Linked DNA regions of Homo sapiens: region 2 is linked to region 1. The links are contacts of gene promoters, found by promoter capture Hi-C in human tissues and cell types (Jung and others, 2019). All regions are on one chromosome and are shown on one strand. The core of a region is centred on a gene start or on the middle of the fragment in contact, and the rest is flanking DNA. Distances in the headings are between cores, read along the strand shown. Region 1 holds the start of ACOT7 (acyl-CoA thioesterase 7). Region 2 overlaps DNAJC11 (DnaJ heat shock protein family (Hsp40) member C11).

What was found. The method cuts DNA at HindIII sites, captures the fragments that hold promoters and counts their contacts. A contact is called where the count stands out against the background at its distance.
Region 2: a fragment that was not itself captured here is called in contact with the fragment with the promoter of ACOT7 in region 1 in 1 of the 25 tissues and cell types used here (pancreas).

Annotation. Positions count from the first base shown.
Region 1 is chr1:6,392,464-6,395,761 of GRCh38, reverse strand. It overlaps ACOT7 (acyl-CoA thioesterase 7), which reads left to right and starts at 1,995. Exons shown (of 9, transcript NM_007274.4): 1 at 1,995-2,505. The coding sequence starts at 2,363. RefSeq lists enhancers at 1-358, 1,111-1,621, 1,622-2,134, 2,135-2,646 and silencers at 1,875-2,324, 2,595-2,684. The HindIII fragment of the contact is 35,573 bases long and covers 1-3,298 here.
Region 2 is chr1:6,643,721-6,647,133 of GRCh38, reverse strand. It overlaps DNAJC11 (DnaJ heat shock protein family (Hsp40) member C11), which reads left to right. Exons shown (of 16, transcript NM_018198.4): 8 at 1,156-1,345; 9 at 2,008-2,093; 10 at 2,460-2,576. Among named protein-coding and RNA genes, the nearest start is that of THAP3, 21 kb to the right of the region's middle. RefSeq lists an enhancer at 522-1,021. The HindIII fragment of the contact is 9,696 bases long and covers 1-3,413 here.

The DNA.
Region 1 (3,298 bases), core at 746-3,245:
CGGGACTAGCAGGCAGCTCCACCTGCAGCCCCAGTGCGGGACCCACTGGGTGAAGCCAGCTGGGCTCCTGAGTCTGGTGGGGACATGGAGAACCTTTATGTCTAGCTAAGGGATTGTAAATACACCAATCGGCACTCTGTATCTAGCTCAAGGTTTGTAAACACACCAATCAGCACCCTGTGTCTAGCTCAGGGTTTGTGAATGCACCAATCAACACTCTGTATCTAACTACGCTGGTGGGGACTTGGAGAACCTTTGTGTCGACACTCTATCTAGCTAATCTGGTGGGGACATGGAGAACCTTTGTGTCTAGCTCAGGGATTGTAAACACACCAATCAGCACCCTGTCAAAACAGACCACTCTGCTCTACCAATCAGCAGGATGTGGGTAGGGCTAGATGAGAGAATAAAAGCAGGCTGCCCGAGCCAGCAGTGGCAACCCACTCTGGTCCCCTTCCACGCTGTAGGAGTGTTGTTCTTTCGCTCTTTGGGTCCACACTGCCTTTATGAGCCGTTAACATTCACTGTGAAGGTCTGCAGCTTCACTCCTGAGCCAGGGAGACCACGAACCCACCAGAAGGAAGAAACTCCAGATGCGCCACCTTAAGAGCTGTAACACTCACCACGAGGGTCCGCGGCTTCATTCTTGAAGTCGGTGAGACCAAGAACCCACCAATTCTGGACACATCTGTACTAAAAATACAAAAATAAGCCAAACGTGGTGGTGCATGCCTATGGTCCCAGCTACTCAGTGTGGTTGAGGCAGGAGAATTGCTTGAAACTGGATGGCAGAGGTTACAGTGAGCTATCACACCACTGCATTCCAGCCTGGGCGACAGAACGAGACTCTATATCAAAAAAAGAAAACAGGCCAGGCGTGGTGGCTCACGCCTGTAATCCCACCACTTTGGGAGGCAGAGGCGGGCAGATCACAAGGTCAGGAGATCAAGACCATCCTGGCTAACACAGTGAAACCCCGTCTCTACTAAAAATACAAAAAATTAGCCGGGCGTGGTGGCAGGCGCCTGTAGTCCCAGCTACTTGGGAGGCTGAGGCAGGAGAATGGCGTGAACCTGGGAGGCGGAGCTTGCAGTGAGCTGAGATTGCACCACTGCACTCCAGCCTGGGCAACAGAGCAAGACTCCGTCTCAAAAAAAAAAAAAAAAAAAGAAAACAGAAAAACAAAATTCTTAGTATAAAAGTCTTGAAATCACAGAGTTCTGACTTTGACTGCCCCTGCTTCTGGGAGCTACAGATCATGCTGTGGGCTGCCTCCACGGTCTGGTAACTCAAGGGTGACCGGGGTGAGGCACAGTTCCTTCAGAGCTACCTAGCTGAGTGTAAATGGGTTGTTCAAATTGCACTAGGGAGCCGGAGTTGCGTGGGTTTTAATTTAAAGATGTAAGTACAAATCTATGTGCATTGTAGAAAATTCGGAAAAGGTCCAACTGCCTAGCAAGTAAAAAGCTGTCATTCCAGCACGTGGGGGGTGACCGCTTCTCCCTTCTTGGGTGTTTTTTGGTGGATTTTTTTTGGTGACCCCGACTGGCCTAGACTCCATTCAAGGGCACATCTTGTGCAGTAAAACACGCATGTTTCAGGGCTCCTCACTGCAACACGTGCACCTCCAGGCTGGCGCTCAGCGCTCCCAGTAAAAGCTGCAGGCGGCGGTGTAGATAGTCGCCGGCCTTTCCTCCTCCCCACCTCGTGACGCTTTGTGCTGCGGAAGCAAAGGCCCGTTCCATTCCCCGTGTCTTCCCAGCAGCCGCCACCAATGCTCCTTTCTAGGAAACAGCCTTCCATTCTCTCTTAGGGCCGATCTTAGCGAGAGCCGCGATGCGGGCGACTGGTGCCGGGGTGGGTTGGGGGCGGGGGTGGGAATCAGGCCCCACTGCCAGGAGCCCGGGCCGCGCCTTCCGCTCTGACCTCATCCGGCCGCCCAGGCACTGGGCGCGGCAGCGAATCGGCGGCGCGGGCGGCCGGGAACGCCCAGCACAAATATTTACCGCCGCGCGGAGAGTGAGGGCCCAAGTCCGCCCTGCTCCGCCACTTAGGCCGCCCCAGACGCTTCCCTCGGGGCTGCCACCGGGTCGGGCGCGGCTGCCGCGGCTAGCGGGCCTTCCCCGCACCGGCGCGGCCCAACCGCCACCGAACCTTCTGGAAGCGGCGGCTGCCTGGGCCCCCACGCCGCCAGAATCGTACGCCCGCGCGAGCTCTCTGCAGCCTTGGCGGCCTGGGAGGCGGGGCTCGGGGTGGGGCCGGCGCGGGGGCGGGGTCGGCGCGGGGAGGCCGCGTTCGATTGCCCCCGGCGCGCAGGCCCCGCCTCACCAGCCCCATCGCTCCACCTCTGCCCTCCCCCTTTATGGCGCGGCCCGGGCTCATTCATTCCGCGCCGGGCCTGCCAGACACCTGCGCCCTTCTGCAGCCGCCCGCCGCATCCGCCGCCGCAGCCCCCAGCATGTCGGGCCCAGACGTCGAGACGCCGTCCGCCATCCAGATCTGCCGGTAAGAGAGGGCCCGCGCGCAGCCTGCAGCGGCCAGGCGCGCCGGTCACCGCCCCAGGCCTGCCCCGCTTGGCTCTGTGGTCCCCACCCGCCGAGGCCGCCCCCGCCCGCCGATTCCCCGCACGGCCTTCCGCGCCGCCGCCCCGGACGCCCGCCCGGCCGGGATGCGACTCGCGATGCCGCACAAGCCGGGCGGCCCCCGCCCGCCTCCAGCCGGCTCCTCCTGGCCGCATCTCCAGGGCGGCGGCCGCGCCACGGGCCGTTTGGGCGAGAAAGCCAGGCAGGGACGGGGCGGGCGGAGGTCAATGCACAGCTCCAGAGCCCGGCGACCGGCGCCCGTGGGCCGCCCCGCCTCGGGCCTCGCCCGAGCATCCCGGAGCCTCAGCCCCGTGGTCCTGCTTAGCCTCCTCGAGGATTCGGGATCATTACCTCGGCGGTTGTGCTGCGCTAACCAAAGCCCCCAGAGGTGGAGGGGAGGTGCCCAGAGCCGCGCGAGCCCCTCGGTGGGTGCCCCTGTGGGAGGAGGTTGCAGAGCTACCGTCTTCAGTGCACTGCTTCGGTTTGGGGGAGGGCAGGTGTTGAAAGGAAGAACAGATAATACTGTCTACCTCTAACAGTTTACTATGAAGAAAAGGGAATCAGTGGTCTGTTGGGCCTGAAAGCATCTTACACAATAGAGGCAAAGGGTTGTCCTTCTAGAGCACCCCCTCTTCTTCCACCAGGTACTGAGTAGATAGATGCAGGCCCCCAGAGGAAGCTGGAGGCTGGAGATCATGAACAAGCTCATTTCCCAT
Region 2 (3,413 bases), core at 346-2,845, 250 kb before region 1:
GCACTCCAGCCTGGACGAGCGAAACTCCGTCAAAAAAAAAAAAAAAAAAAAAAGACCTGTCCAGGCTCAAGTGCTCCTTCCTCCTCAGTCGCTGAGACTACAGGGCGTGCCGCTACACCTGGCTAATTTTGTGTCTTTTTTGTAGAGATGGGGGTTTTGTCATGTTGTCCAGGCTGTCCTTGAACTCCTGGGGTGAAGCAATTTGCCTCCTCAGCCTCCCAAAGTGCTGGGGTTACAGGTGTGAGCCAATGAGCCTGCCTACTGTTATTTTAATGGCATAAACATCACCTCCAGAGCTTAGAAAGGAGAGAAAGAAACTTAGGCAATTGATGTGGAGCTCTTTATTAAAGAAACCAGCTGTTAGTTTACCCTTCAGCACCTTGAATGAAGTGTGAATTTCTGTTAGTAAAATGAAATACCTCTTTTCAACCAGAAGATGGGGCTGGACTCCCTTGGAAAGAAACTGCAGAGGCTCTTTTCGGGAACCGGTTTCCTGTGCTCGCTTTGCCTGTAGTTTCTGTCACTAGTACCCAGCTGTGGTCACTAGTACATCAGAAATCACACAGCAGCTCCAAAAATATACTGATGCCTCCACCCAGAAATTCTGGTTCCATAGGTCTGGGGTGTCCTCTAGGTAAGTGATTCTCAAACTCTACTGCACATTGGAATCATTGGGACACTTAGCACTCCAAGCCCACACTGAAGGAATCAGCATGCCGGCGAAGAAGCCACCAGCCGTGATTTGTGGATGAGCCAGGTGATTCCAGCGTGCAGTATGAGCACCACTGTCTTGGACTGCTTAATATGAGACCCTCCGTTGGTGATTCTGACTTGCACTCCTCGGCCCCCATCCATTCTAACTTGAGTGGGGTTGCATCTGCTGGCATAGGAATGCAGACAGTCAGGTGCCTATTTGGTTGTAGCTAAAGTTAGGGCGGCTGAGGGGAGTCGGGAGGTTACTAGGAAGATTCTGGCTAGGACCCTCCCCCTCTGTGTGGATAGAGGCCTGACCTCCTGCTTTTTTTTTTACTGGGAGCTGGCCCAGGGATGCATAGACGTGACAGTAAGTGAGGTCTTAGCCAGGCAGAGAGGAAGTAACAGAACAGCTGAGAGCAGGTGCTATCCAGGACCTATTCTGTCTCTGTGTCTCTCCAGCTTTGTGACAACAAACTGTGCTCTGCAGTTTTCATCCCGTGGAATCCGACCCGGCCTGACCACTGTCCTAGCTCGGAACCTAGACAAGAACACCGTGGGCTACCTGCAGTGGCGATGGGGTATCCAGTCAGCCATGAACACTAGCATCGTCCGAGACACTAAAACCAGCCACTTCACTGTGGCCCTGCAGGTGAGCCGAGCAGCCATCATCTCCTGCAGACAGAGCTCTGGGAGGACCCCTCCTCCCAAGCACTCAGTGCTCCCCTTAAATCCTGCGTCCTGATCACCACTAAGTCTAAGCCCATACAGGGCCCTGAGGGGCAGGCTCTCGGTGCTCACACTCGAGTGACCTGGTGGAACCTTCGAGTATGAAATGCAGTTGCCTTCAGGCGCCTGGGGCAGCTTTGTTGGATCATCTTAAAGCAGAACAACATCTTAATGTCTGGTGGGAGCCACCCACGGAATTGGGGGCGGGCAGATGAAGCCCCATAGCAGAATCATGCCCTCGGACGCCCCTGTGGCCACACCAGGGCTGGTACATGAGAAGCCCCACACGGGCCACTGCTCCTTGGCTCTCACCAGCCGCTGCCACCTAGGAGCATAGGCTCAGTGTCACCAGAGTTTTTTATTTCTTGTGAGAAGCTAGAAAACTGGGTTTTCAGTGAAGTCTCCCACTTTTTAATTACTGGCTGCTAATAAATCATGGTGCACTCACTGCGGCTGCCAGACCGTGACCCCTGCCTTAAAGGCCTGTGTGCAGCAGATGCCCAGAGCTAGTGGGAGGGCAGATACCCATCTCCCCACAGAGTCACACGCCCTAGCCACGCATCCTTGCACCCTCTGTCTCCCCAGCTGGGAATCCCTCACTCCTTTGCACTGATCAGCTATCAGCACAAATTCCAAGATGACGATCAGACTCGTGTGAAAGGATCCCTCAAGTAAGTCCTGGCCTGGCTAAAATGGAAGCACACTGGTACTGCATGCGGGTCTTCACAGTGGAACCAGTTGGTGTAAGACACCTTGCTCGTGTGAATATCTACGTGTGTGTGACATTTTTGGAGAGCTTCCTATTTTGAGGCTGTGGGGGATTTAACACTACAGTCCCAGCCCTTGAGGAGCTTAGAGAGTGTTGTGGAAGAACTAGACCATGGGTGTCCCAACTTTCTTCTGTCATGAATCTGCTCCCTGGGGGTCGAGGAGGCTGGAGGGAGGGAAGGGAAGGTACCTGGCCTCTTCTCAAATGACAGCTGCCCCTGAAGTGATGAATGAGGGGCACAGGCACAGACCGCGTTCTCTCCCTGCAGAGCAGGCTTCTTTGGGACGGTGGTGGAGTACGGAGCTGAGAGGAAGATCTCCAGGCACAGCGTTTTGGGTGCAGCTGTCAGCGTTGGAGTTCCACAGGGTGTTTCTCTCAAAGTCAAGTAAGTTGAACTTAGGCCTTTCGGGTCAAGGAATGCCTGTCACCTTCACTCAACCAGGCTTTACCCAAGTTAAGGCTGAAATAGCCTTTGCATTGTAATTTTGTTCTTAAAGACACAGTTGCTTGGCTAGGTGCAGTGGCTTATGCCTGTAATCCCAGCACTTTAGGAGGCCAAGGCGGCCGGATCGCCTGAGGTCAGGAGTTTGAGACCAGCCTGGCCAACGTGGTGAAACCCCATCTCTACTGAAAATACAAAAATTAGCCAGACGTGGTGGCACACGCCTATAATCCCAGCTATTTGGGAGGCCGAGGCAGGAGAATTGCTTGAACCCGAAGGCGGAGGTTGCAGTGAGCTGAGATGGAGATCGTGCCACTGCACTCCAGCCTGGAGGACAGTGAGACTCCGTCTCAAAAAATATAAAAAAAAAAATTCAGCCAGGTGCCGTGGATCACGAGGTCAGGAGATCGAGACCATCCTGGCTAACATGGTGAAACCCCATCTCTACTAAAAATACAAAAAATTAGCCAGGGGTGGTGGCGGGTGCCTGTAGTCCCAGGTACTCGGGAGGCTGAGGCAGGAGAATCGCTTGAACCCAGGAGGCGGAGCTTGCAGTGAGCCAGGATCGCTCCATTGCACTCCAGCCCGGGTGACAGAGTGAGACTCCATCTCAAAAAAAAAATACAGTTGCTTGTGTCTTTGCTGAGTAAGCAAATGTCAAGCAGTGCATAGTTCCAACACCGAGTGAGTGAGGTGTACGTCTGAGCTCCAGCAGCCTCGCCTGATGTCACAGGATGCATCCTAGCAGCCCAGTCCTCCTGGAGTCACTGGCCTGGCAGC